7 separate regions of the Homo sapiens genome follow, and all the other regions are linked to region 7. Evidence: promoter capture Hi-C in 16 types of primary human blood cells and fetal thymus (Javierre and others, 2016). All regions are on one chromosome and are shown on one strand. The core of a region is centred on a gene start or on the middle of the fragment in contact, and the rest is flanking DNA. Distances in the headings are between cores, read along the strand shown. Region 1 overlaps TMOD3 (tropomodulin 3). Region 2 has its middle 5.4 kb from the start of LEO1. Region 3 overlaps MAPK6 (mitogen-activated protein kinase 6). Region 4 overlaps LYSMD2 (LysM domain containing 2). Region 5 holds the start of MAPK6 (mitogen-activated protein kinase 6). Region 6 has its middle 4.6 kb from the start of TMOD3. Region 7 holds the start of ATOSA (atos homolog A).

The links. Contacts are between HindIII fragments. The CHiCAGO score rates a contact against its expected background, and 5 or more counts as called.
Region 1: a fragment that was not itself captured here is called in contact with the fragment with the promoter of ATOSA in region 7 in 1 of 17 cell types (activated CD4 T cells); the score reaches 5.4 in activated CD4 T cells.
Region 2: a fragment that was not itself captured here is called in contact with the fragment with the promoter of ATOSA in region 7 in 1 of 17 cell types (fetal thymus); the score reaches 5.1 in fetal thymus.
Region 3: a contact is called between a fragment that was not itself captured here and the fragment with the promoter of ATOSA in region 7, in 1 of 17 cell types (total CD8 T cells). The highest score is 6.1, in total CD8 T cells.
Region 4: a contact is called between a fragment that was not itself captured here and the fragment with the promoter of ATOSA in region 7, in 1 of 17 cell types (total CD8 T cells). The highest score is 5.1, in total CD8 T cells.
Region 5: the fragment with the promoter of MAPK6 here is called in contact with the fragment with the promoter of ATOSA in region 7 in 6 of 17 cell types (fetal thymus, naive CD4 T cells, total CD8 T cells and 3 more); the score reaches 8.8 in fetal thymus.
Region 6: a fragment that was not itself captured here is called in contact with the fragment with the promoter of ATOSA in region 7 in 1 of 17 cell types (activated CD4 T cells); the score reaches 5.8 in activated CD4 T cells.

What each region holds. Positions count from the first base shown.
Region 1 is chr15:51,845,538-51,849,819 of GRCh38, forward strand. The region is part of intron 1 of TMOD3 (tropomodulin 3); the gene reads left to right. Among named protein-coding and RNA genes, the nearest start is that of TMOD3, 18 kb to the left of the region's middle. The HindIII fragment of the contact is 704 bases long and covers 2,020-2,723 here.
Region 2 is chr15:51,975,135-51,979,230 of GRCh38, forward strand. It overlaps a transcript of MAPK6 not described here. Among named protein-coding and RNA genes, the nearest start is that of LEO1, 5.4 kb to the left of the region's middle. The HindIII fragment of the contact is 8,624 bases long and covers 1-4,096 here.
Region 3 is chr15:52,036,384-52,040,427 of GRCh38, forward strand. The region is part of intron 1 of MAPK6 (mitogen-activated protein kinase 6); the gene reads left to right. Among named protein-coding and RNA genes, the nearest start is that of MAPK6, 19 kb to the left of the region's middle. The HindIII fragment of the contact is 635 bases long and covers 1,419-2,053 here.
Region 4 is chr15:51,723,809-51,727,706 of GRCh38, forward strand. LYSMD2 (LysM domain containing 2) reads right to left here. Exons shown (of 3, transcript NM_153374.3): 2 at 982-1,313. Among named protein-coding and RNA genes, the nearest start is that of LYSMD2, 12 kb to the right of the region's middle. RefSeq lists a silencer at 2,605-2,664. The HindIII fragment of the contact is 1,992 bases long and covers 320-2,311 here.
Region 5 is chr15:52,016,881-52,021,074 of GRCh38, forward strand. It overlaps MAPK6 (mitogen-activated protein kinase 6), which reads left to right and starts at 2,339. Exons shown (of 6, transcript NM_002748.4): 1 at 2,339-2,496. MAPK6-DT (MAPK6 divergent transcript) reads right to left here and starts at 2,215. Exons shown (of 2, transcript NR_156732.1): 1 at 1,819-2,215. RefSeq lists enhancers at 1,940-2,009, 3,350-3,399 and silencers at 2,180-2,289, 2,590-3,099. The HindIII fragment of the contact is 8,244 bases long and covers 1-3,261 here.
Region 6 is chr15:51,823,170-51,826,857 of GRCh38, forward strand. No RefSeq gene overlaps it. Among named protein-coding and RNA genes, the nearest start is that of TMOD3, 4.6 kb to the right of the region's middle. The HindIII fragment of the contact is 734 bases long and covers 1,842-2,575 here.
Region 7 is chr15:52,677,056-52,680,760 of GRCh38, forward strand. It overlaps ATOSA (atos homolog A), which reads right to left and starts at 2,333. Exons shown (of 13, transcript NM_001385016.1): 1 at 1,773-2,333; 2 at 951-1,067. The coding sequence starts at 966. It overlaps LOC105370821 (a long non-coding RNA gene), which reads left to right and starts at 2,550. Exons shown (of 4, transcript XR_932255.4): 1 at 2,550-2,638. RefSeq lists enhancers at 1,029-1,098, 1,229-1,368 and a silencer at 1,949-2,268. The HindIII fragment of the contact is 2,387 bases long and covers 593-2,979 here.

The DNA of each region.
Region 1 (4,282 bases), core at 1,122-3,621, 830 kb before region 7:
CTTGAGCTCAGGATTTTAGACCAGCCTGGGCAACATAGTGAGACCTCATCTCTACAAAAAATTTAAAAATTAGCTGGGCATGGTTGGCACACACTTGTTGTCCCAGCTACTCAGTAAGCTGAGGTGGGAGAATCGCTTGAGCCCAGAAGGTCGAGGCTGCAGTGAGCTGTCATCACTCCAGCCTGGGTGATAGTGGGAGACTCTGTCTCAAAAAATAAAACAAGGAAAGAATTTTGGTTTCCTCTGGGTTTTGTTTGTTTTTCCTCCTCTGGTGATAATTGAATCCTATTAATTACATAGGTTTGTCACAGTTTGTTATAGAGCTTGGAGAAGGACTTCGGAGTAATCAATCAAGGAGTCAGAAGGTACAGAAAATTCTCCTTATTCTAGCAAAGAAAGGGAGCTTCAGTTATATAATCTAGCTAAAATTAAAAACTTTTAAAAATCTATTTTTAAGACTGAAGATTTTTCCATTAAAATTTAAAAGTACACTACTGACTGAGCGCAGTGGCTCACACCTGTTATCCCAGCACTTTGGGAGGCAGAGGCAGATGGATTACTTGAGCCCAGGAGTTTGAGACCAGCCTGGGCAACATGGTAAAACCCCATTTCTACCAAAAAAAAAAAAAATACAAAAATAAAAATTAGCCAGACATAGTGGCACGCACCTATTGTCCCAGCTACTTGAGAGGCTGAAGTGGGAGGATTGCTTGAGCCCGGGAGTTTGAGGCTGCCATGAGCCATGTTCATGCCACTACACTTTAGCCTGGGTAACAGGCTCAAAACAAAACAAAACAAAACAAAACAAAAAACAAATCTAGTTTGAAGCCCAGGAAATTTGGAAGGATTGAAACTGAGGAAAAATAATACCTTTTGTTCACTGCGTAACATTCAACTTGCTCTCAGCATGATTTCTTTTAGACCTGGCCTAGTTTATTTTAGGTTTTATGTGTTCTTCAATGCTTACTAACTTGGTGGATTAAGAAAATTCTTGCAAGAGGAAAAATGAGTCATGGTGATACTTCCCTTTGGGGGAGAGAAAGAAAACTCTCAGATTAATCTCACCATTATGCACTTGGCATGGATTCAGCATTTTGATTGATGGCTGAGCATTGATAAATCTTTCCCTGTAAGCCACTTCATATCATATTTGGTTTTGTTCACAGTAGGACTGGTAGAAGTCTCTTTTTCAGTTAACCAGCAGAGATAAAGAACTCTGTAACCTTATTACCATCAGAGACTTGTTCGTATGATGTCATTTCTTTTTTTTAAAGATATTTTGAGTTTGCAACAACTGGGAAAAAACATTTCCCAGTCTACCCAGTCTATTAAACAAACAAACCAAAAAATTAAAAACTGAAAAACATTTGGTGCTGAGAAACTGGGTATGCTAAGGGTGTGGCTATTTTGGCATCCATCTTTGGTATGCACAGAGTGGGTTCCTCTTTGACCTTGCCCTGTGTCTCTGATGCTGCAGCTCCACTAAGAAGAAGAAAAAGGGGAGGTGGGACAGAACTGGGAGCTGGTTTGCTACTATTCGTCAGAAAAGGAAGTGGGGCACCTACAAGAGAGCCACGAAGTCTCTCAGCAGGGTCTTGTTGAAAGATTGTTTTTGAAGTGGTATGAATAACCTGTCAAGTATTTTCTTGTAATAATCACAGAACTAATCTGGCTACTTTCTACTTTAAGGTAGTCCTCCGTGATCTGCTTCTAATTACATCTCTTCTTTATTCTAGCCCTAACAAGTTTTTCTGCACTGCCTTCAGATTTCAAACTATTTTCTCTGCAATCTATAAATTTCATTTTTTAAAATGCAAGATGGCATTGGTAGCAATGGCAGGAAAGACAGGGCTACTTAGGTTGATTAGTTTCCATGGGACTTTTACACAGAATAATCAACCACTATTTTTTCAACTACTGTGTGCAAAGCAGCTATCTCACTGAGCTGTGCTAATATCTGAGTCAACAAACCGTAGCATCCCCAAAACGCCACAAAAATTATTAAAATACTGTCTTTTAAGCTTCATTATATAGAAGAATCAGTGAACCAAACAAAAGGATAAATTTAGCATCCAGTATATTTCCTTTAAAAAAGTCTTAGACAGGCATGGTGGCTCACGTTTATAATTCCAGCACTTTGAGGGTCTGAAGCAGGAGGATCACTTGAAGCCAAGAGACCAGTCTGGGCAAAGCAAGACCCCATCTCTATCCTCCTCCATTTGCTATCAAAGTAATATACGTTATATACAACTAAAATAAAATGGGCATTTTTTAGAAGGTAAATATGTGTGCCAATACAGTGCTTTGAGCGTGGTGGGTATTGCTACGGTTTGAATGTCTGTACCTTCCTAAAATTCATATGCTGAAACCTAATCACCAATATGATGGTATTAGGAGGTGGGGCCTTTGAGAGGTGAGTAGGTCGTGAGGATAGAGCCTTCATGAGTAGGATTCATGCCATTATAAAAGAGGCCCTAGAGAGCTGCCTTGCATTTCTATCATTTCAGGACACAGCTCCATCTGTGAATCAGAAAGTGGGCTCGCACCTGACTCTGAATCTGCTGGTGTCTTATTGGACTTCTCAGCCTCTGGAAATTGTGAGAAATAAATTGCTGTGGTTTACAAGCTACCTAGTTTATGGTATTTTGTTATAGCAGCCTAAATGGGCTAAGACAGACACTGAATATATTCTTTGTTTATAATTAGTGTTATTTAGAATTATAAGCTTATAAAAAGGAAATGACCTTATGAGAGTCTTGAAACTCCCTTGCCTTTGAGGAATCTGCCACATTGTCCCTGACAGATATTCATACTCAGCCTCAACAATCCCAAGAATACATAGATGACTGTCTTTACCTTAGCCTTCTCCATCAAAGAGAATGTTCTTCAAACCAGCAGAGATGAAACTCAACCTTAACATTAAATAGAAGAGTATTTTGATGTTTTGAATGTTAAAATCTCCAGCCGGAGATAACTTATTGTTACATTATTTCCAGATTAATTTTGAACCATGCCAAACAGAAAAGGGAATGTCAATTTGAATTTTTTTAATTGAAGTAAATTGAAGCAGATACTTGGGAAATTGTTGGCTAGTGAACCGTATCTACTTCAAAAGTTTACATGGATATTCATCCAAAGGGAATATTTTGATCCTAACTACTATTAATATGTGTCAACACTGAAATAGTTTTATTTAAAAGTAAACATATATAATCACCAGAAGTTTTCTTCAGCATGAAAGGATATGACTGCCAGTCAATATCTGAAACAAAGGCAAAGCTGAATTTAATGCTTACTGTAATAAGGGAGAGCAATGCTGGCTAGACACAGTTTCTCTAAGAAGAGCAGGCCAATTTCTAATTTTGGGGAATTGTGGAATTCAGGGATTGGCAAACTTTCTGAGGCTGTAGTGGGTTAACATAATCTGTAGAAGTATGACTATGATTGGCTGGCACTCAGAGGAGTGTTTATTGGAGTATGTTCCCGATCAGCTTCTTTCGGAAGTTGGGAAGCTATTGCAATAGCCCAGATAAGAGGAGATAATGGCTTGGACCAGAGTGGAAGGAAGCAGTGGAGATGGTAAAGAGATGACTTTTAAAGGTAAAACCAGCAAGATTTGCTGGGTGGATCATGTGTGGAGTGCGAGAGAAATCAAAGTTGACTCCAAGATTTTTGGCCTGAGAGACTAAAGAATGGTGTTGCTGTTTATTACATGGGAAAAACATGGCAAGAGCAGGTATGGGGGAGAAAATTAGGAGTCTGTTTTGTATGTTTACATTTGAGAAACCTGTTAGCCATCCAAGTGGAGATTTTACATGGATAGTTATTTGCAAGTATGGAATTCAGGAGAGAGGTCCAGATTGGAGATATCAATTTAAAAGTTATCAGTGTATGAAATCACCAAGGCAGTGAGTATAGAAAGAGAAGCTGTCCAAGGAACTAAGTACTGGGGGCACTCCAACATTTGAAGATGAGGAAGATGAGGAGGAACCAGCAGAGGAGAATGAGATGGGGCAGTCAGGGAGGAAGGACCAAGAAAAAATGATGTCCCCAAAGCCAAGTGAGGAAAGTGTTTTATGGCCAGACACTGTGTCTAATAGGTCTCTTAAGATGTGGACTAAGGTGGCTCCTGCCTGTAATCCCAGCACTTTGGGAGGCCAAGGCAGGTGGATCACCTGAGGTCAGGAGTTCAAGGCCAGCCTGGCCAACATGGTGAAACCTCATCTCTTCCAAAAATACAAAAAAAATTAGCCAGGCATGGTGGCTCACACCTGTAATCCCA
Region 2 (4,096 bases), core at 448-2,947, 700 kb before region 7:
AATAATATCTTTTTAGATACCATAGAACCCGAAGAACAAAGATTCAATGAGGTTGAGTACATAACACAATACAATTAATGTATCATCACAAACATTTTTACAAGGTAATCAAAAAAATACTCAACAGGCCGGGCGCGGTGGCTCACGCCTGTAATCCCAGCACTTTGGGAGGCCAAGGCAGGTGGATCACGAGGTCAAGAGATCAAGACCATCCTGGCCAACATGGTGAAACCTCGTCTCTACTAAGAATACAAAAATTAGCTGGGTGGGGTGGCATGCACCTGTAGTCCCAGCTACTCAGGAGGCTGAGGCAGGAGAATCGCTTGAATCCGGGAGGCGGAGGTTGCAGTGAGCCAAGATCGCGCCACTGCACTCAAGCCTGGAGACAGAGCAAGACTCCGTCTAAAAAAAAAAAGTATAAAATATATACTTACACCAAATCACACAAAAAGGAATATATGTTTTTAAATTTGTGTAACACCTTAACGACTTAGAGGAAAAATAACAGATTGATTAAACAGAATATATTCACTGAAAATTCACTCCATTTATGGTAAACTGCCACTCCACAGGAGGATCATGTGGCTTTTCTGAGCACTTTGTGGAAGGAGTTGGCCTTTAGAAGGGAACAGGCTGATCTGAATTAAAGAGAGCAAGAGAGGAACCTTGTAGTTTCTCTCTATAGCAGTAAGTAAATACTCAGCTGATTTCTTGGAAGACACATGATATTCACTAACAGTCTGCCTTTACTGGATTCCTTACTGAATTACTGAATTAGGGTCCCACAATGGGTGCTATAGGGATATAAAAATAATGACAAACATATTTCTTCATATAAAAGAGTTTGGGGGGCTGGACACGGTGGCTCACGCCTGTAATCCCAGCACTTTGGGAGGCCGAGGCGGGCGGATCACGAGGTCAGGAAAGCAAGACCATCCTGGCTAACACGGTGAAACCCCATCTGTACTAAAAATATAAAAAATTTGCCGGGCGTGGTGGCACATGCCTGTAGTCCCAGCTACTCGGGAGGCTGAGGCAGAAGAATCGCTTGAACCCGGGAGGCAGAGGTTGCAGTGAGCTGAGATCGTGCCACTGCACTCCAGCCTGGGTGACAAAGCGAGACTCCCATCTCAAAAAAAAAAAAAAAAAAAAGAAGTTAATTATAAACTATGTAGAGGTACTAAAAATTGAAAGCCAGAAAATGATCAGTGAAGATGGGGGTTAGTCAGGAAAGGTTTCTTAGGAAGATTCAAACTATATTAATGAAGTGACCAGAGGGAACGCAGTTATTGAGACATAAAATTGAGCAGAACGTAAAACTCAAACAAGAACATTGACCAGCTTATCAAATTCATTCCCTGATTCACTATAAAATTTCAGAACACTGGGGATTAAAAAAAAAATTCTAAAAGTTTCTAGAGAGAAAAATCTGCTGGCATATGAAGAATCTGGAATTAAAATGTTGTCAGATTTCTAAACAATTCTGAGAGTTAGAACTATGTGGAATTGTCTTTAAAATCCTGAAGGAGGCCGGGTGTGGTGGCTCACACCTATAATCTCAGCACGTTGGGAGGCCGAGGCAGGCGGATCATGAAGTCAGGAGTTCAAGACCAGCCTGACCAAAATGGTGAAACCCCATCTCTACTAAAAATACAAAAATTAGCCGGGCTTGGCGGTCGCACTCCTGTAATCTCAGCTACTCAGGAAGCTGAAGCAGGAGAATCGCTTCAACCCGGGAGGCGGAGGATGCAGGAGCCTAGATTAAGCCACTGCTCTCCAGCCTGGGAGATAGAGCAAGACTCTGTCTCAAAAAAATAAATTAATAAAATAAAATTCTGAAGGAAAATTATCCATCCTAGAATTATTATTATTATTTTTGGGGGAAGGGGGATGGAGTCTCTCTCTGTTGCCCAGGCTGGAGTGCAGTGGTACGATCTTGGCTCACTGCAACCTCTGCCTCCCAGGTTCTACAATTCTCCTGCCTCAGCCTCCCGAGTAGCTGGGATTACAGGTGCACACCACCACGCCCGGCTAATTTTTTGTATTTTGGTAGAGACGGGATTTCACCATATTGTCCAGGCTGGTCTCGAGCTCCTGAGCTCAGGCAATCCATCCACCTTGGCCTCACTAAGTGCTAGGATTACAGACGTGAGCCACTGCGCCCGGCCGATCCATCTTAGAATTCTGTACTCACCAAACTATCATTAAATAAAGGAAAGAGTAATGGTATCCGAAGGAAACTAGCCTCTATGTATGCAGTGCAACTACCCTGAGGCTCCATGCTGTGAAAAAGCCCAAAGGAGGCCACACAGGGAGACCAAATGAAGAGAGATGCCAGGCCAACCCCCATCTGTTATCGCCCTCCTACAGTTCCTACTCCAGCCTCCATTTATTTTGTTGTTGTTGTTTTGTTTTGTTTGAGACAAAGTCTCCCTCTGTCACCCAGGCTGGAGGTCAAGTGGTGTGATTACAGCTCACTGCAGCCTTGAACTCCTGGGCTCAACTGATCCTCCCACCTCGGCCTCCTGAGTAGCCGGGATTACAGGCATGTGCCACTGTACCTGGCTAACTTTTTATTTTTTTGTAGAGACAGGGTCTCACTATGTTGCTCAGAATGACTTCGAACTCCTGGCCTCAAGCGATCCTCCCACCTTGGCCTCCTAAAGTACTGGGATTATAGGAACAAGACACCATACCTGGCCCCAGCCACCATTTGGATGCCACCTCAGTGAAGGAGCCCAGGCCACAAGTGCCCAGCTGAGCCTTTCCTCAATTGTCTCAGAGTAACCAGGAGACCATAAATGGGTGCTGTGGCATAGTACACTAAGTTTTGAGGTATTTTGTTATGCAGCCTTAGCAACTGGTAAGGTTGCTCAAATATTTTACAGTCTATGAATTGTCCACCAAAATGAGGTGGTCCACTAAACCAAGGAAGAGAAAAGCTGTTGAGATAGGAAAACCAACAATGGAAAGAAGCAAAAGGAATTACTGATGACAGTTTAATTTTTTTTTTTTTGTAACAGAGTCCTGCTCTGTCGCCCAAGCTGGAGTACAGTGGTGTAATCTCAGCTCACTGCAGCCTCCGTCTCCTGGGTTCAAGTGATTCTCCTGCCTCAGCCTCCCGACTAGCTGGGCTTAGAGGCACACACCACCATACCCAGCTAATTTTTTGTATTTTTAGTAGAGACAGGGTTTTGGGATGTTGGCCAGGCTGGTCTCAAACTCCTGACCTCAGGTGATCCACCGGCCTTGGCCTCCCAGTATGCTGGGATTCCAGGCGTGAGCCACCATGCCCAGATTTCAAAAAGGTAATACGGTATCTAAACTCTATTACCACACCCAGCAGGGGCTGACCAGCATCCTATAATCAAAATTAAATTTCTATAGTAAAATGTATGAAAATTCAAACTAAGAGTGATAAAGTTTAAATAGGTTTAGATCAGTTTGGGTCAGCATTTGCCACCAAAATGAGTTATGAAAGTACGCTCAATTTCAGAGATTTTTTGGGGGGATTACCTTATAACCCCATTAAAAAAACAAAACAAGAAAAAAACTTTTAAAAGAAAACAATTTCAGAGATTTTTGGATTTCAGAATTTTGAAAAAGGGATTGTGGACTAGAACTAACTTATTCCATTTTCACAACAACCCTATAACATAGATTACATTACATTCCTCCCATTTTACATGTCAAGAATTTGAAGGGGCCAAGCATGGTGGTTCACACCGATAACCCCAACACTTTGGGAGGCCAAGGTGGGCAGATCGTTTGAGTCCAGGAGTTCAAGACCAGCCTGGGCAACATAGTGAGACCTGGTCACAAAAAAATTAGCCAGGAATAGTGGCTCACCCCTGTAGTCCCAGCTACTTGGGAGGCTGAGGCATGAGGATCATTTGAGGCTGGGAAGTCAAGGCTGCAGTGAGCCATGATCATGCCACTGCACCCCAGCCGGGGTGACAGAGTGAGACCTTGAAAAAAAAAAGAGAGAAAGAAAGGAAGGAAGGGAGGGAGGGAGGGAAGGAAGAGAAGGAAGGAAAGGAAGGAAGGAAGGAGGGAAAAGAGAAAGAAGGAAAGAAGAAAGAAAAAAAGAGAAAGA
Region 3 (4,044 bases), core at 486-2,985, 640 kb before region 7:
AGAGAAATTTATTTCTTACAGTTCTGGAGGCTTGGCAGTCTGATACCATGGTGCCGGCATCTGGTGAGGGTCTCCTTTCTGCATCAGCCCATGGTATAAGAGAAAGAGAGGGCCAAATTTGCTTTTATAATAGGCCCACTCCCACAATAATGACATTAACCCATCTGCTTCTTACTAGTGATTAATAATCACCACTTATTAGGCCCCACCTCCTAACACTTGCATTGAGGATTAAGCTTCCAACCCATGAACTTTGGGGGACACATTCAAAGCATGGCACGGGCCTAGTGAAAGACTGGACTCTTTCAGTAGGGCCAAATTCTTGTATGGATCTGATAGCAAACCAACTTAAAATTTTGTTTTTAAATCTCGCAAGCTTTCTTTTTTTCTTCCTTTCTTTCCTTCCTTCCTTTTTCTTTCCTTTCTTTCCCTCCCCTCCTCTCCCCTCCCCTCCCCTTTTTTTGTGAAAGCAGGTTTATTAAGAAAGTAAAGGAATAAAAGAATGGCTACTCCATAGGCAGGGCAGCCAAATCTTGTAAGCCTTCTTCAGTTTGGAGAAAATGAGAAATAAAGAGGAAGGATATTCCAAAAAAATAACATGCCATTCTGAATTGTTTTTAAAAATTAGGGAATTGGCCAGATGCGGGGCTGATCTGTAATTCCAGCACTTTGGAAGACTTAGGTGGGAGGATCACTTGAGGCCGGGAGTTCAAGACCAGCCTGGGTAACATAGTGAGACCCCATTTCTACAAAAAGAAAAAGAAAAAAAAGTTGAACGTGGTGTGTGCCTATAGTCCCAGCTACTCAGGAGGCTTAGTGGGAGAATTGTTTGAGGCAACAGAGTGAGACCCTGTCTCTTAAAGAGAATCTCCAAGTAAGCATATGGTTCTCTCCATTTGAGAGTCCAGAGATGTTTTATATGGCCTTGCATAATGTGACCTTCTTCAGACCCTCACCAGAGTTAGCTCAAAAACAACAGCAGTCACGTTTGATCTGTAGTCTGAAAAGCTGTGGTGCTAAACCCTGCTAGGATGGACTGAAGAATAGTGTCAAGGTCTTGCATATCTTCATTATACCTTCTTTGGTATTACATGGGCTGATAGGACTTTTTAGAGTCCTGCTTGACTGATTATATAGGATGCTATTTCAGTGGCACAGTCCCTCCCCATCACCTCAACAAGATAAGATGAGAGCTGTAACAAAGCTGAAGTGTTTCATTTCTTCATTCTGAGTGGGTTGAAACCAGCTGCCTTCTTCATGTTGTTGGCAGACCTGTGCATTCGCATAGAGTGAGGGTCCTGGTGGAATGCCTGGAAAGGAAAATACCATATCTGGGAATCTTCACTGATGTTTTCTAGTGGTAGATCAGAATGTGATCAGATTCTGAAAAATTCGAGGATAGGACTTCCCTTCTCCAAAGCTTTCTACTCACGTAGAATATGCTATTTACATTGATTCATTCAGTACATATTTTAGGGTACCTACTAATTACCAGGTACTATGCTTAGGAAATGTCCCCAAAGCTACTTAGTCCCAAACCTTTTATCATAGACAAAGCCACAGAAAAAAGGAGGGGAATGGTGCCCTGGAAAATGAAGAGTAGAGGTTCTGAAGAATCACATTAGATTAGGTTGGGGGAGGATGGCAAAAGAAAAGGGAGTGAAAATGTTATTAGAAAGAGGAGAAAGAAAAGTGAAATGTTAGATAGGGAGGAATCCACTACATGCCCCTGTGCTCCAGGAGTAATAATGTGTTCCTTTGAGCTCAAGATTGAAAAAAAAAAAAAAATTGACCTCTGCTATAGCTTAATGCCTAAAACAATGCCTGGCACATGGTAAGCATTCAGTAAAATGTTGAATGAAACGTAATGGATGGATGGGAGGGTTGAATCTGTTTAGTCTGTTTAAAAGATGTTTTAAAAACATCTTGGTTCATTCTGCTTCTGGGCCCATGTTGGGATTGCATTTACCCACTCCCTTGGGTATACGTATGACCATGTGACCTACTTTAGTCAGTAAAATGTGAGAAGTGAATGGTGTCACTTTTGGATGGAAGCTTTTTTGCCAGTGAGATAGTCTTACTTTTCTCTGCTACATTGCATGTAATTGGTAGAGATGGTGGGTACTTTAGCAGCTTGGCTGACAGCTACGTTGAACTTGTGGCATGAGCAAGACTTAGATTTTTGGGGGCCATCTATTATCCTGACTGCTTTGAAAATTTATATTTTCATCTAGTTAGAATCCTCAGGTGTCCAAAGGTGCTTGAAGAAAGAGGCTGTGCACATGTCTCCTGTCCTATATTTGCTCCAATATTTCTTTAATGTTAGTTAGGTTAGGAATCTTAGAATAAAGCCTCCTGCCGGGAGGAAGATAAGAAATGGGATCAAGCGTTATTATAATTATTTAAAAATTTCCAGCCGTAAGTTTGTAGAAGGGATTATATTTGTTTAGTATACAGCAATTTGAATAACATCTCTCCCATTCTGAGCATACCACCACAGGGCTTGGGAATAAAACTAAAGAAATATAAGACTTGTAAATCATAGACTTAGAATTGGAAGAGTCTATAGGGATGTTATTACTAGTTTATCTGGTCTATGAATTTTTGAATTTCTAATATGAATGGGTTACAGTAAATCTGTAACTAGGAGATGGAGTCTCCCTCTGTCCCTCAGGCTGAAGTGCAGTGGCACGATCTTGGCTCACTGCAACCTCCACCTCCCAGGTTCAAGCGATTCTCCTGCCTCAGCTCCTGAGTAGCTGATTACAGCAGTGCACCACCATGCCAAGCTAATTTTTGTATTTTTAGTAGAGATGGAGTTTGACCATGTTGGTCAGGCTGGTCGCAGGTGATCCACCCGCCTTGGCCTCCCAAAGTGCATGAGCCACCACGCCTGGCTGTAACTAGACTTACTAGTTGTAATCTGGTTACAGATTTACTGTAAGTCATCCATACTGGAAAATAACAACTAGAGATAAGCAACAAAATAAACATAATGGCATGTGCTTTACAATGGCTTTTTAAATGGCCAAAGGCAAATGAAAGCCCCTAATGTTAAAATGCATGTAGGCAAGGGCTTAAACAATTTAAGAACACAAATTGGTAGTAGTAGGTGAGTGTTTTGTCTTTTTTTTTTTTTTTTTTTTTTTGAAGACAGGGTCTCACTCTGTTGCCCAAGCTGGAGTGCAGTGGTGTGATCTCAGCTCACTGCAGCGTCCGCCTCCCAGGTTCAAGCGATTCTCCAACCTCAGCCTCCTGAGTAGCTGGGATTACAGGTGTGAGCCACGACACCTGGCTAGTTTTTGTATTGTTAGTAGAGACAGGGGTTTTACCATGTTGGCCAGGCTGGTCTCCAACTCCTGGCCTCAGGTGTTCTGCCCACCTTGGACTCCCAAAGTGCTAGGATTACAAGTGTGAGCCACCACGCCCAGCCTGTTTTGTCTTTAAATTGGATACTTTGTTACTGTCTTCTCTGACTTTGAAAGTTTGTCTCTGTAGATAAGCATAGTTACTGATACTACCCAAAGCCTTTCAGACTTTGGCATTTTAGATTTAAGGTCCCATGTCTTTTCCCAGGTTCCTAAGATTATTTGTTGTTAATAGTTTATACTCCCAGCCTCCTTGATGTCCAAATCCTGAAAGGGCCCCTGATAACTCTTATGGCCGCCCACCATACATTAGGAGCAAGGGCTTTGTCAAAAATGCAGTGAGCAAGCAGCTAAGCTGTAGCACTTGGCCTTCTCTGCCCGAAAATCTTAGTAGCTTTGATGAGAGCTTGAGACATGATCTCAGGGAAGGGTGAATTTGCTACAGCTACATTTATCTGTGCCAGGGTTAGGAGATAGCCCTAGGTGAATATAAGAAAAGCTCAACCTTTCCCTTCTGTCCAAAAGCAACTGGGTTTTGGCTGAGGAGATGTGAGGCTGGCTAGGTTCCTGTTAACTCAAATTACTCACTTGACTATGGAGAAGAGCAAAATAAGAGCCTTTGTGGAGAGGGGATGGGGGAAGTGCTGTGCTGTCAGTGAATGTGAACAGGCCAGAT
Region 4 (3,898 bases), core at 66-2,565, 950 kb before region 7:
CATACCTTACTATCTCCATTTTATTCATATCTCAGTTATTAGAATAAATAATGTCATTCATTTATGTATTTATATTTGCTTATATTTACATATATTTTAAATCTATACTAAATTATATTCATATTTATATTTGTTTATGTTTTCTATATTCTACCTCTTTCCCAAAAGGATTTAAGGTACTAACAACAAAAGGCATATATACAATAAGATTAATAAAATAGAAATAAAAAAATCAGGACTAAGGAAAGGAGAAGGAAACCAATGTATTAATCATAAGAAATATTATAGGAGTTGAACACAGGTATCAATTTTAGTTGCAAGCTTCCCAATAGCCAGAGCAAAAAAGGAAACACAGTAGATTGTACTTTTTTGAAATCAAATCATAAAGAAAAAAGGAAACCAATTCTATAGGAGAGAGAAAGATTTGCCCTAATATCAAATTTAAAAAACAAAGAAAAAAGTTCACATGAGATCTTATGTAGGAAACACCCAGTAACAAATAACAGACAATGTCTTTGACAAGTTTTGCAACTATCAATATTTTACAAGTATTTTCTATGACACTACTTCTCTTGAAAGTGTCAGTGAGAGAGACACTTTTATTTTGCCGCTATCCAGAAGTGCTAGCTGGACAGTGACGCTATTAAAGCAAAGAAGCAAACTTTTTATAGTAAATAACAGATAAAAACACTGCAACAGATAAAGCCTTGTGCATCAGGCAGCAGCTCTGTTTAGAGTTTATATACTAAAAATGCCTTTCTAGAACTAAAATGCAGTTTTTAAAGCAAAAAAAGAAAGAAAGAAAGAAATTAAGAAAGGAAGAAATTAAGAAAGAAAGAAATTAAGAAAAAAAGAAAAAAAATCAGAAAGAAAGAAAAGAAAAGAAAAGGCAAAGAAAAGAGAAAAGAAAGATTTGGCCCAGCAAGGACATCTTAATAGTGATTTATTTAGACTTTGACATTTGTACCAGGGTATTCTTACCTGCTCTCTTCTTTTAGCTTCTTGGCTGCCTGTGTTGATAACTTAATCTGCAAGTCAAGTCTCTGCAGGAAATCTCTGGCTGACACTTCCTCAGGCTGCACAGGCTGAACATCAGATTCTTGAGGACTGGGAGGAGGGAGGTCTTCCCCGGCCACCACTGGCTCCTCTTCCTGAGAAAAACTGTTATCAGCAGTTTCATTTTCTGGAGAATCAATGGAGTTAAGTCCATTAAACAACAAAGGCTTCTCTGATATAACTGGGATGTTCAAAGTTTTCTTCAGAAATATACAATCATTGGTAAACAGTTTATTGGCCCTTTTAATCTGTTCCATCTAAAATATAAAAAAGGAGACACAGAATTACATATAACCAAGTCAAGGAGTAAGATTTATTATACAATACAGAACTACCAATATTCATAAGCAAAATGTACACAATGCTTTCTTGGGATTTGAGACTCTTCATTCAGGTTTGGTAACCTCCCCAGATATCTCTAGTTATTTCAAGAGATGTTGGAGAATTGTTTCCCAATTTTTAAAAAGGACAGACTAATTTTTCCACATTATACTATTTCTACTACAAGGCAGCTTTTAACATCAGTGGACTTAAATCTCTGAAGTTTAAAAATGTAAAATTTTTAGCACTTAATAAATTCCATTCTTGTTTTAACATTTCTATTATCTGATTTTTTTTAAACTTACCATTGCTGCTGTTTTACTTATGAAGTGCTTCCCATGTCTCTAGAACTGTACTTAGTAAATACAGTTACTGTATGAACATGAGCTTGTTACTTATATCATTGATCCTTTCTCCTCATGTGTAAAACAGGTACCATCTACCTTTCACAGGGTTGTTGCAAGGATTAAATGAGAGCTTATATACCCACTCACATCAAGGAAATATATATATATGAGAGAATATATAAAAATATATGTACATTCTATACATATATTCCCATATATATCTATATGGAAAGAGAGAGAGAAAGTAGTGATTAGAGTGTCTGGCAGTGGATGGTACTTACTACTCTCCACTTTGCGATGAAGAAATCAAAACACAAAAGAGATGGTAGATTTGACCAAGTACATATGGCTCTTTAAATGTTTAAAATGGGATTTTTGTCTGACTCCGAAGTCCGTACAACATCTGAATTAAAGTACACAACTAATGAAATCACATTATGGGGAGCCTTTAATGCCAAATGAATTCTGAGTAAAAACAAAAAAATTGTATTTCTACTTCAAAAAGCCTGCAAAAACAACAGTCAACTAAGTGGACCCTGTTCATCCTGCTTTGTTATAAGCTGATTCCATGCAAATAGTACATGTAAAGCTTTCTTTTTTCTTCTAAAGATACTCCATTAAAGGAATGAGATTTTTAAAAAGGATGGTCTTTTGTGTTCTCGTTTCTAGTTTAAGGGGAGAAAGAGAACATAAACATGGGCAGGTGCCTTTTAGAGACAAAATTAAAATCTAAAAACCCCAAGTATCTCTGGTCTAGTTCAGGTTTGAAAGGGTTAATAACTTGGACACTTTGCCCGTAGCAGGTTCAGGTATACCTATTGCTATTTCGCCTTTAGGACCCCTAGATCTTGCCCCCAAGCATCCAGCTGCTCTATCTCTCTTAGTGCATAGGCTTCCAATGACACTAAGCCCTCCCCTGGCTCCAGAGTGAGCATATGACTCATTCCTGCCCTGGGGAGCATCACAGGCTTTTGTGATAGATCACAGACCCATGACAGAATCATTCAGACATGCAAAGAGACTCCTGCAGGACGGTAGTCGAGGGGAGAGTTCTCTACTGCTTTCTGCTGGAAGGAGATAGGCTGGAGATGCTGGCAGTCATCCTGGCACCTTGTGGAATCTGATACTGGAGTCACCTTAGAGGTGAGCATTTGAACTTCTGGATCACAGCCTGAAGACAGAACATGCTCAGTTCCAAGATCCACTAAACTCCACTTGGAGTTTGTTTTTTGTTTAGGCCAATTTGAGTTAGGTTTTCTGTCACTTGTAGCTGAAAGAGCTCTTGCTGATACAGTGCCCTTTGAAATGCTTATCAGAAGGGGACTACGACTGCTAATAGTCATTGCTTCCTGGGAATAATGATGGAAGACAGAAACAGATGGGACCAGGATCCAAACTGCTGAGCAGAGCTAGGAACTGCAAGAGTACACTATTAATTCTTTGAGGGCAAGAACTGGTTATTGCTATAGCCTTCCTGGTCTGACAAAGATCTCATACACACTAAGTGCTTAGGATGGATGGACAGGTGGATGGAAGGATGGATGGATGGATGAATTAACGCAGGTCAGAGGAGTGGGCATGGAAGATGAAGTAATCAGAAATGGGTAGTAAGTTATCTGTCGTGCTGCTTATTCTCCTTTCAAACCCACTCTCCCCTCCCAATCCATTCCTCCACTCTTCTTGGGCTTATTCTAAACCCTAGGAGGCTGACTTTTTAAGAACGGCATTACCCAGGTCCCCTTGTCCTTGGAATTCCAGTTGGTTTTCAAACAGCAGCAGAACGACCTTACCATAACCAGTGGCTGCATTCCTCTCTGGTGAGAGTTCCTATCAGGAGTCCCAGATCCAAGGCTCCAGATCTTGCCAGTGTTCCCTTGGCCCTTCAGGCCTAGGGGTAATGTCTCCCTGCTATTGCTAGTCTCTGGGTGCTTCAACTTCCCTTGTTGGTTCCCTCAACTATGCCCACATTCAGTAAATGTCCCTTTATTAAACTCTCTTCGGCCACATCCTCTGAGAGTGTTATCTGTATTCTGCTGCAATGCTGACAGATACATCTATCATACAGAGCACAATGGGCCATCAAGGCCAGGCAAGGGGCCTACAGAGGACTAGACAAGGTGACAGACTCAGAGGCTGTGTGCAGTCAGGGAGTCCACAGGCAGTGAAGGGCTAGG
Region 5 (4,194 bases), core at 1,089-3,588, 660 kb before region 7:
TAAAAATACAAAAATCAGCTGGGTGTGCTGGCGCGCACCTGTAGTCCCAGCTACTCGGGAGGCTGAGGCGGGGGAATCGCTTGAGCAGAGGTTGCAGTGAGCAGAGGTTGCAGTGAGCCAAGATTGCACCACTCTGCACTCCAGCCTGGCGACAGACCGAGGCTCTGTCTCAAAAACAAACAAACAAACAAACAAACAAAAACCAGATCCCCCAAATCTTGTAATTATTCCATCCTTGACCTCCCCTTTGTCTCACGTGTCCGTGTGAAGAGACCACCAAACAGGCTTTGTGTGAAAAACAAGGCTGTTTATTTCACCTGGGTGCAGGCGGGCTGAGTCTGAAAAAGGAGTCAGCAAAGGGTGGTGGATTATCATTAGTTCTTACAGGTTTTGGGATAGGCAGTGGAGTTAAGAGCAATGGTTTGGGGGCAGGGGGTGGATCTCACAAAGTACATTCTCAAGGGTGGGGAGAGTTACAAGGAATCTTCTTAAGGATGGGGGAGATTATAAAGAACCTTCTTAAGGGTGGGGGAGATTACAAAGTACACTGATCAGTTAGGTTGGGGCAGAAATAAATCACAATGATGGAATGTCATCAGTTAAGGCTATTTTCATTTTTTTTGTGGATCTTCAGTTGCTTCAGGTCATCTGGATGTATATGTGCAGGTCACTGGGGATACGATGGCTTAGCTTGGGCTCAGAGGCCTGACACCCTTTTGAAATGCTACAAAGATTCTGTCAATTTAGTGGTCTCCCTTACTATTGTAAGCCAACTTTGCATTATCCACAGGAAGTCAGCAGTGACACTGGATTAAATGCTCCTTGAGGGAAGGCACAGTGCTTGGTATTTATTCTCCCACCTTCTCTGGGTGATCAGACATTGATGGAAAAGGAAGGTAAACGAGTTCTCAAAGAGTGAGAGGAAAAATGTCCTGAGGATCAGAGGAGAGCCTAGAGCAGAGGCAGTGGGGCTGAAGGTACGAGCTCTCGTTGCAGAAGCTGGAAATTCTGCGGTTGGAACAAGTCTCCCCTTTCTCTTGGTTTTTTTCACTCATTACCTCTTCTTCACACCTGGTACTCAGCTGACGTTGTTTTAAATATTAAAAAATATAAAGCATTCAAGCTCACCCCAACCACTTAACTTCATTACTCTGTGATTTTTTTTTTTGAGACAGAGTTTCGCCCTTTCGCCCAGGCTGGAGTGTCCTGGCGCGATCTCGGCTCACTGCAACCCCCCGCGGGGTTCAAGCTATTCTCCTGCCTCAGCCTCCCGAGTAGCTGGGATTACAGGTGTGAGCCACCACACCCGGCTACTTTTTGTATTTTTAGTGGAGACGGGGCTTTCACCATGTTGGCCATGCTGGTCTCGAACTCCTGGCCTCAGGTGATCTGCCCGTCTCGGCCTCCCAAAGTGCTAGGATTACAGGCGTGAACCACCACGCCTGGCCCTTTGTGATCTTTTTGAAGTGGTCTTTGCCTCTTTCTTGAAGATGCCCATAATAATGACTAGAAGGGCTATTCTATGTCTGGTTCTCAGCAAGATGGTGATGAAGTCATTGAAAAAATATGCTGACCTGCGTCTCTAATTTCATAAATACTTAAATTTCACATAAACACTGAAAAGGCTCCTTGGACTCAATAAGCCATGATAAGTAATGTAAGTTTGCTTTTAGCCAAGTGGGCCCAAGAAGGCACCCATCCACCTTTCTACGTTTCATAGTGCATCCCTTCCCAAATTCAAATTGTCCTATCCCAGTTCCTGCAACAAGCCAGGTACTCTGGCCTCCCAGTCTTTGCTCACAGAAACACCCTCCCCACCTCCTGGTTATATCCGCTCCTCCGGGATCCAGCTGAAAGGCCACCTTGGCGACCACTCCTGAAAGCCTTCCTCCATACTCTGGCAGAATGAATGACCTTAGTATTGGCCTCTAACGCGTCTGTCTTGTGCTCGGGCTGTCGCCTTCCAGCCAATCCATCTTAAGGTCCACCCTTCCTGGAGACTGAGGCCTCTTCCTCTCGGATTGCCCAGTGCCTTGCACGTAGTAGGTGCTTAGTAAACGCTGGCACTGGGTTTGGTCACTTTGTTCCCTTAATGCCAGGGCAGGTAGTAGAGCAAACGGCCCCAGCTGTCTTCCTCCCTGCCCGCCCGCAGGCAAAGCCCCCAGGAGACGCCGGACGAGCCGCGTGCCTTTCCCACCGCCTCCGCGGCGCGCGCAGCCCAGTCACGGGCGCTGGAAATTCCGGCGCGTGCGGGTGCGCTGGGCAGGGCGGGGGCGGGAGAACCCGTGGAGTGAGCCTGTGACGTGAGGGGGCGTGGCACCGCGAAGCCCCGCCCCCTCTTCCTCGCCCTCTCTCGCGGGTCGGGGTTACATGGCGGCGACTGCGGCAAAGCGAGAGCCTCGGAGACGCCGCTGCCGCCAGCACAGCCGGAGACCTGAGCCGACACTGGGGGCAGTCCGCGAGCCCCGCACTCTCTCGATGAGTCGGAGAAGTCCCGTGAGTGTGTGTGTGTACGTGTGCGGGGTGCGCCGGCGGGGCGGCTCGGGAGGGCGCCGCGGCGGGCCCGGCGGCGGCGGCGGCGGCGGCGACGGCGGAGCCGGCTCCCTCCTCCATTGTGTGTGACCCTCCGGCGGCTGCCGCTCAACAAAGGCGTTTTTGTTCGGTCTGCCGCCCGCCCCCTGCTCGCCCGCCTGCCCGCCCGCTCGGGCCTGGCCGGCGCGTCCCCGCGCGGGCGGGCGGGCGGCGGGCTGGGGTCCCCGCGTGGGGCCGGCCAGGCGGCCAGCGCGCCCCTCCCACCCGGCACGCCCCTCGCCGGTCGCCCTGCCAGGCCGCGCCCGCTCCCTGGCCCCGCACGCCTGCTGCCGTCCCGCCGCCTGCGCCTGGCTCCGCGGGTTCGAAACCCAGCCGGACCGGACCGGAGGGCGGGCGAGCGAGGGGCGGCGGCCCGGGGAACATGAGGTGGCGTGGAGTCTCGCCTTACTGGCACGCTGCCTTTCGAAATGCTCCCGCGTCTCCTCCCCCATCCCACCCGGTGACTCGGCCTCAGCTGACTCCGGCCGGGCAAAGTCTCCAGTGGCGTAGCGCGCAGCGCTCACCCGGCTCGTCTCAGAGCCCTGAAGTCCGCCCAAGTTTTGAGTCTTGCCATGAATGAGGTACTGAAAACTCGGAGACGAAATTCCTAATTTCCTCCCTCGGCCCTACAGTCTTTCCTTAGCTTCTTTCGGGACCTTAAGTGGTGGTCTGTAAAAGTGCCCAAATGAAAGCTTGTTTTGTCGGTTCACCAAAAAGGGCCTTGTCACTTTGCTGTGCATTTTAGTCCGCCTTGTGAGTTGTGTCGAAAAGTAAAGGTGTTTTGGCATCCTTTTGTTTCTTGGCGAGTGTAGGACCCAACCGGTTTAGGTGTTAGGGGGATCTCTGTGCAGCGGGAGCTTCTTGATTCCTTTCCTGTTTTATTTTTTCTTTTGCTTGTTCATTGGAAAAGGTCCAGTGAAAGGGACTGGTGAGTTGGAATTAGAAGCCTACTTGTATTAACGGCAGAATTCGTGTTCATTGCTAAAGATGCAGTCTCAGTAATGACTTTTTTTTTTTTAACGGATACAGATGATTTGTCAAGGGGAAAAATTAACACGCCATACAATGAAGAGCAAGCAGCTTCAGAGTAATTTTCTGATGGCTGATTCTTCTAGCCTGTCTCTTACAGTTCCAATTGCACATGTCCTCCCTCTTTAACGCTGGAAAACTGAGATGGAAAGAATGATCTGACCAGAAGAATGTAGGGTCCAAACAGGGCCTGGCCCTGAAATCAGGAATTTCTTCATAGAAATATCAGATTTTAATGTTTAAAAAATAATTTTGAATTGGGTGAAAGGAACTTTGTCTTTAGATAGTAGTTGTTCAAACATGTTTATGAAGTGTTTGCTATGTGCCAGGGATTGTAAAGTCATTTCACATATGTTACATCATTTATTAAGAATTGCCTTAAGCTTGTAAAATTATTCATTGATGTCCTGAATTCAGTAATTGCAGTTAATCTAGAAAATATGCCAGATTTGAGCAGAACATATTTGATCACCTAGGTATTACTGTTGAGAAGAAAACACTGGAAAATGGAGACTATTTTAGAAAAAACTTCGTATATGAGGATATTCTGGAATTCATTTATTTGCAAAAGAGGATTAGAAGTAGTCGTTGGCT
Region 6 (3,688 bases), core at 959-3,458, 850 kb before region 7:
GAGCGAGATTTCATCTAAAAACAAACAAACAAACAAACAAATTAAAAACTTAAGGAGGATAAAAATGAAGACAGTTTAGTTAATGGGTACAAAAATACACTTGGAATAAGTTTTAGTGGTTCAACAGCACAGTAGGGTGACTGTAGTTGTCAATAATGTATTGCATATTTCAAAATAGCTGGAAGATTTGAAATGTTCTCAACACAAAGAAATAATCAATGTTTGAGATGATGACCAATTACCCTGGTTTGATTATTACACATTGTATCATGTAGCAAAATATCACATGTACTCCCATGCATATGTACAATTATAATGTATCAATAAGAATTTAGTAAAAGACAAAAAGAAACAATTATTTAAGACTTTTAAGCAAATAGGAAAATAAGCTGACAATCACTACAAATATCAAGAAGGAATCCATTGGCTAGATAACCTAGAAAAAACAATACATTGTTTTCAAGCCAATAAATGTTTATAAAAAATTCAAATAATACAAGGAGGCCAGGCGCGGTGGCTCACACCTGTAATCCCAGCACTTTGGGAGGCCGAGGTTGGAGGATCACTTGAGGTCAGGAGTTTAAGATCAGCCTGGCCAACATGGCAAAACCCTGTCTCTACTAAAAATACAAAAATAAGTCAGGTGTGGTGGTGCACGTCTGTAGTCCCAGCTACTCAGGAGGCTGAGGCAGGAGAATCGCTTGAACCCAGGAGGTGGAGGTTGCAGTGAGCCAAGATCGTGCCATTGCACTCCAGCCTGGGCGACAGAGTGAGACTCTGTCTCAAAAACAAATAATAATAATAAATAAAAATAAATAAAGACAAGGAAAAGTAAGCAGAAGTTAAATCATATCACAACTCTGGTCTTGGTAGAAGGGTTTGGGGCATCTAGCATTTATCATTTAAAGACCTGAATTTAATTCTTATTTAATTCCATTTATGACAGGGATCATATTCATTCACTCACCTGAGCTGAAATTTGGCTTTCTGCAGTGACTGTAGGAGAGTCTAACAATGGACAGCACTGGGAATTTATTGCTTCTATAGTAAATGTTAAACTGAACAGTTTTAGCACTAACATTTTTAATATTATTAAAATAGTATTAAAATTTGGGGATAATATTTTAGGTTTATGTGCATATCCCAGAAGTTTATTCTTTAATAGTGATGTTTGTCATCAACTTTGGCTTCAGCTGAAGAGTGACTTATTTTTTGGCCCTTTTGGCATTTGGCTGAAATGTGTATTCAGTGCACTTCTAATGGAGGCATAATGGGGTATGAAAATATGGGAAAGGCAAAATTAATTCCAGCTGATGGCATTAGTGAAGGTTGAGTGGGGAACAGACATTTGAGATGGACAATGAAACATGAGGAGGCTTCTAACAGGCAGAGATGGGTTATAGAAAAAGGGGCACTTGAGGCCAAAAAGTGTGCTTGAATCTTTCCTGTAAAACTGTATGCACACAGGCGTGGTGGCTCATGCCTGTAATCCCAGCACTTTGGGAGGTCAAGGAAGGCAGATCACCTGAGGTCACGAGTTTGAGACCAGCCTGGCCAACATGGTGAAACCCCGTCTCTACTAAAAATACAAAAATTAGCCAGGCATGGTTGTGCACACCTGGAATCCCAGCTACTTGGGAGGCTGAGGCAGGAGAATGGTGTGAACCCGGGAGGTGGAGCTTGCAGTGAGCCAAGATCACGCCACTGCACTCCAGCCTGGGTGACAGAGAGAGACTCCATCTCAAAAAAAAAAAAAAAAAAAAAACCGGTATGTACCCAGCCATGATGTTTGTCTTCTGTGATTGCTACCTCCCACTGCTTCCATAGGATTCCTACCTCCAAGCTTCCATAATGAAATCCTTCCCTTTTCATTTCAAATTTTTGTCTTTAGTTTTTCTCAGCTCTCCTATAAATACACGTTTTTACATACACACAAAATATGCTTACATATACCAAAGTAACTATTTCCTAAAGGAACTCTTTGATAACAAGAAAAGTGCTGCTGTTATTAATTAGCATACGATGATTCAGTGTGACATGCTTTCTGAGTTATTCTGGCTGGAAGTTTAGAGATAACACTAATTAGAGCTTGTAATATTAACACATAAAGTAGAGTTGAAGTGTCATTTTATCAATCACTTTCACTCTAACCAAACCCTGAACACTAATGGGAACCATACTCTGTCCCTTGTTCAAATATTTTACCTGAAGGCCTCAGATTTGTTCTCTGTAGTGTGTTAGCCTGTTGAACTTCAACAGTTTTCCATTACTTGAAGTGGGTTAAATGCAGACGGTTGGGGGTGCCATACCACTTCTAGTTCAGATCATCATGTTTCTTTGATTAGGCACTATAGTAGTCAGCTTTTGCTAAGTAAGTCTATAGTAACAAACGAACCTAAACCTCAGTTTCCCCTTCGCTCACATTATATATTATGTCAGCTAGTGGCTGAGGCTCTGATCCATGTAATTTCTTATTCTAGAACCCAGGCAGAAGGACCAGCCTCTATTCAGAACTTGTCTCTCTTGGTGGAGGGAAAGAGCAGGCACACTAGTAGAGAAAGGCAGTGACTCTTAAAGCTTCCACCCAGAACTGTCGGATTGTCCCTTCCACTTATATTTTATTGACCAAAGCAAGATTCATGTTTCTAAACTTTGTGATTACAATATGACATTTAACCGAAGAGAGGAGGAAAATCCCATCATGGGATCATAGCCAAGCCTGGAATGCCTGCGGGGCAGCACTGGAAGTCACATAGTAGTGGGCAAGCCTGTCTATTCCTCTAAAGGAGAGCAAATATGTGGGAACAATATTTCAATCTACCACAGGTATTTAGTGGACTTACCTTTTCACTTATTTATGTAAATCTAATTTCCATGTTTTTCCTGTTTGTTTTCCTCCAAGAATTATGTTTCCAACTCTAAGGGAATAGTGGCAACCCTAAATTATAGCCTTTTTAAAAGAGAGCTCTGTCTCTATTTCAGGACTTTCACAGGATCTTATTCTCCTGTGTAGTCAACCCTCTTGCAGCTGGTGTTTACATCCAAATCAGGTCACTGGCTGGCATTTACAGGTGAACCTTCTGGGTCTGTGTCCCAAGAGGAGAGTAGGAGAGAGAGGGAAGAACCCAACATTCATTTATTTACAAATATTTATTGAATACTTTCTGTGTGCAGGCAGTATTGTAGATGCTAGGGATGGAGGAGTAAACAAAGCAAAGCTTGTTGAGCTTCCACTAAGGAAACAAGCAATATGAAGCTATGTGGTAAAAGTGCTATGACGACAAGTAAAGAAAGGAGAGAATGGCAGGGTAAGGTGGTAAGAGGAAGACTTTCAGAGGTAACATGTGAGCAGAACCTTCATTAAAATGAGGGCATGAGCTAGAAGCATCTGGGAGGAAAATCATTCTCCTGCACAGCATAAAGACTCTGAGATGGGGAGAAACTTGGCAGGATTAAGAAACCTCAGGGAGGCCAGTATGACTAGAGCAGTATCAGAGAGAATATGTGGTAGGAAACAAAACAATCATATACAGATTTGTAGAGGTGTTAATTATGGATTTTATTCTAAATGTGATGGAAGCCATGAACGGTTTGGAGCAAGATGGTGATATGATCTGATTTGTTTTTAAAAGATCATTCTGGGCTGGGAGTGGTAGCTCACGCGTGTAATCCCAGCACTTTGGGAGAC
Region 7 (3,705 bases), core at 1,083-3,582:
TTCAATAGACCTATTTTACCCAGAAAATTTGTCTAATCACTTTGAAAAAATATATGGAAAAACAACCAGTTTAATATATATAAATTTTAAAATAAGCATCTAATTCGTAGGATAAATTAACATTTCCAATCCTAAAGACTTGGATTTGGAAGGAAATCTGTCATCTAGTCCAGCCCCCTACCAAATAAAATAATCCCCACTTCACAATGTTCCTTGGAATCAAACTCATATCTGACTGAAAAGCTCTCACTACTAACCACTACTATATTAACATCTTCTAAAATTGGTTCTTGCCATTAATCAGAAGACTGATAAAGAATTACCTTGAAGTCCTTGAAAAGCAGTGTATATATTATTCTTATAAATCCTGAAAATACAGGTTTAGAAAAGAAGTGACATTTACTTATCACCAGGGATTTCAGTGGCCCAAACTGTCCATATGCTGGTATATTGAATACTGGAGTACTCTGCAAACTTTTGGAGTTTGCTTAAAGCACAAAAATCAACTAATCAAAGTAGTAATAAAATAACAGTTGTCAACTCAAGCTTAAGTTTTCTCTTCATTTTATCAAGTTCACATTCAAGTTTAAAAAGCTTATGAACTTCTTGAAAGTTGAAGTTAGATTGACTACCTAAAAACGAGCAAGTACAACTCTAAAATGATACCTGTATTGTGGCAACAGATACAAATACCATTCTTTACTTTCATTTTGAGATACACTAGAATCTCTCTTGAAGCTAGTGCTTCAGAAGCACTTTTGTAAAAACGCTTAACCTTCTCTTCCATATGCCTTTCTCTACCTCACCAGCTGGAATCTGTCACAAAAACAGATAATCACATATGATACAGAAATAGTTGATCCTACTGCAGAATTAGGTTAACACTTCTAAATTGAGGCATAGAAAAGAAGGGGGTGGGGGAACAAGCCCTACTTAAACAAATCATTTACCTCGGTCTGGCTTCATTTTCACATCCAATTTTCGCCCAGAGTGCTGTGAAATGCACCTGTGGGTTCTTTCAACAGGCTCGCCGCTGATTCTACGGCTTCTGCTTCGCTTTCAAAATGCTGAAAGAGACAAAAATAAAATTAATCTGGCCCTATTCTAATACCCGGACCTTGCAAGTAAACTACTGTTAAGTTAGGCCTCTTCCTGGCACCAACTGCGGTGACAGCACCCTCGGCTGGTCTGAAAAAAGCAAAACTCTCTGCACCGCCTCCCCCATCTCCTCCGGATCGAGCACCCCCTTCCCTGCCTCTGTGCTCTCCAGGCCAATGTGTCCTTCTGACACAGTCTCTGAACCAAAACAGGATCTATTTATAACCTGGAGGTACAGGCAAGAAGAAGAAAAAGATTTGAGCAACACAAACTAACCCCTTCGTACAAAAACGCCTCTGGAAACAGAGGCACCTCCGCAGGGCTGGTATGGAAATTCTTCCACCTGGTGCCTGGGCGCAGCCAACTCTTCCAGTCCCCTGCGCCTCCCGAGCCCTCCGCCCGCCCCGCCGGGCCTCACCTGTGTAATTACCCTCTGGCTAGCCTTCCTGCGGCAACCGCGGCCAAGTTTACACAGAAACCCGAGTCACCTCCTCCCGCCCAGCCCCCAGCCCCAAACGAACTCTTCCGGGCTGTCCCGGGGCGACCCTACCAACTCCCAACCAGTCCTCCGCGGCCGGCTCCGGGGGAGGTGTTTACAGCCTGTGCTCGCCCCCTGCTCTGCACAACCCCTTCCGTCCCGCCGCGGCCCCGGATTTCCTTCAGCCCCGCCGCACCGAGCGCCGCGTCTGCCCCTCTCCCCGCTGGAGAGTTGTTTTCATGGCGCTCTCGAGCTGGCCGGCTCCTCCGCTCCCTCGGCCGACCTCTGCTGACTAACTCGCTCTCCTCTCCCGTCCCAATCCCGCCTCCTCTTGGCACTTCTCTCCACCGCTCGCCCAGCAGCTCACATCACACTCCCACCTCAGACCCCAGGCTCCGAGAGGCGCAGGGCCAGCGGGAGCGGAGTATGGAGCGCAGCGGCCCCCGCGGCTGCCTCAGGTGACCGTGGGGACCCGAGACGACCAGCCCGAAGCGGCTCCCCGGCGCCCCTGTGGCCATCCACCCGCGCCTCAGCCACCGCCTCGCTCCGCTCCCTGCGCTCAGCCCCTCCGCCCTGCCTGACTGGCACCCGAGCCCCGCGACCCCCGGGCTTCCCCCGCCCGTAGCCCCGGCCGGCCCTCTTGCCCAGCGCCTCTGCCAGCTCCTTGCCCGCCCGCTGTCTCTAGCTCTGGCGCCCCGGCTCCCCGTCCCCCTCGCTCGGCCAGTTCTTTCTCTGCTGTTTGCCCTGTCAAAACACTGCCTAGGTCACGTGTCCCAACAACAGCCAACCCACCCCGGTCGTCACTTCCTCCCCGGCGGCCTCCGCGGCCCTGGCGCCCGGTTACTATGGCAATGCCGCCGCTCGCCCCGGGGCGCTAGTTTGGGGCCGGGTTTTCGGTGCAGGTGCCCGGCGGGTGCGAGGGCGCTGGAGATGGCGGCTGGGAGACACCAGCAGAGTCCCGGAAGCCCGAGACGTCCCAGGCACTTCGGTTGCGCTCCCAGCCGGCAGAGGCGCGCCTGGATTCTGAGACCAGGAATCGGAGCTGCGCTATTAGAGCGCAGGGTAACTGGGGAGATGTCATCCAAAGGCCTGCCCCAGACGTGGAGGATAATTATAGTCGTCGTCTCCTCCTCCTCCTCCTCCTCCTCCTCCTCCTCCTCCTCCCCCCTCCCCCTCCTTCCCCCCCTCCTCCTCCTCCTCCTCCTCCTCCCGGGATGCTGGCACAGAGTTGTGATCGAGCCCCAAGTGGATTGCAGCGCATAATGGAACCCGGGTTTAATGTGACCGGGACGGGGGGTGGGCAGCTATGCGGGTCAGGGAGTGGGAGAATTTAAGAACAGGAAGCCCACCCCCACCCTAGATTTTCCCAAATCACTAAGGATTTTAGTAGGATTCAGAACCCAAGCTTCCAAGACACTCGCTGTGCTAAAAATAATCTTCATAACTTCTAAAACACTGACTCATGGGCAGGAGGACACTTTGACAGCATGTTATTGTTGGGGAGCTGTAATTTTGTTGTTGTGCTATAGCAATGTGACATGATGGCATTTCATGTTGTGATGTTGTCGTCATTTAAACACAAACAGATGACAGGAATCTGCTGTACTTAAAAAAAAACCCAATCCTAACAAGCGCTGCAGCTATTAGCTACTCAGTCTATAGACAAAGTACATATGGGGCATGAGCCCAAATGGAGACAAGTAAAAATTTGCAAGGCTCTTTGGTTTCATTAGAAAAAGTTTTTTTTTTAGATATAATTTTGCATAAAAGGATCACAGGAAAGTATTAGGACAAGTCTAAGGGGATTTTTTTTATTTGTGCCCTTCTGTTTTAAAATTTTTTTTACAATGAGTCTATTATTTTCACATCAGAAGAGTTTTATAAACTGCAAGATTGGCAGTTCCATTTTTTTGGCCTCAGGTAAAGTTCTTATGAAAAAGGCATGAAATATTTAAAAAGTAACATTTTCTAGTGCTTAGATATGTACAGTAAAATAACATGTACAACTGAAATTGTTAACCTTAACTCCACGATTGTATCTAATCAGAGCGGAGAGAACATTCAGGAGGGTAACATTTCATTTTCTCTGAAATGTTCTGGCATCATGACGATGAAACTGACAAATGGAA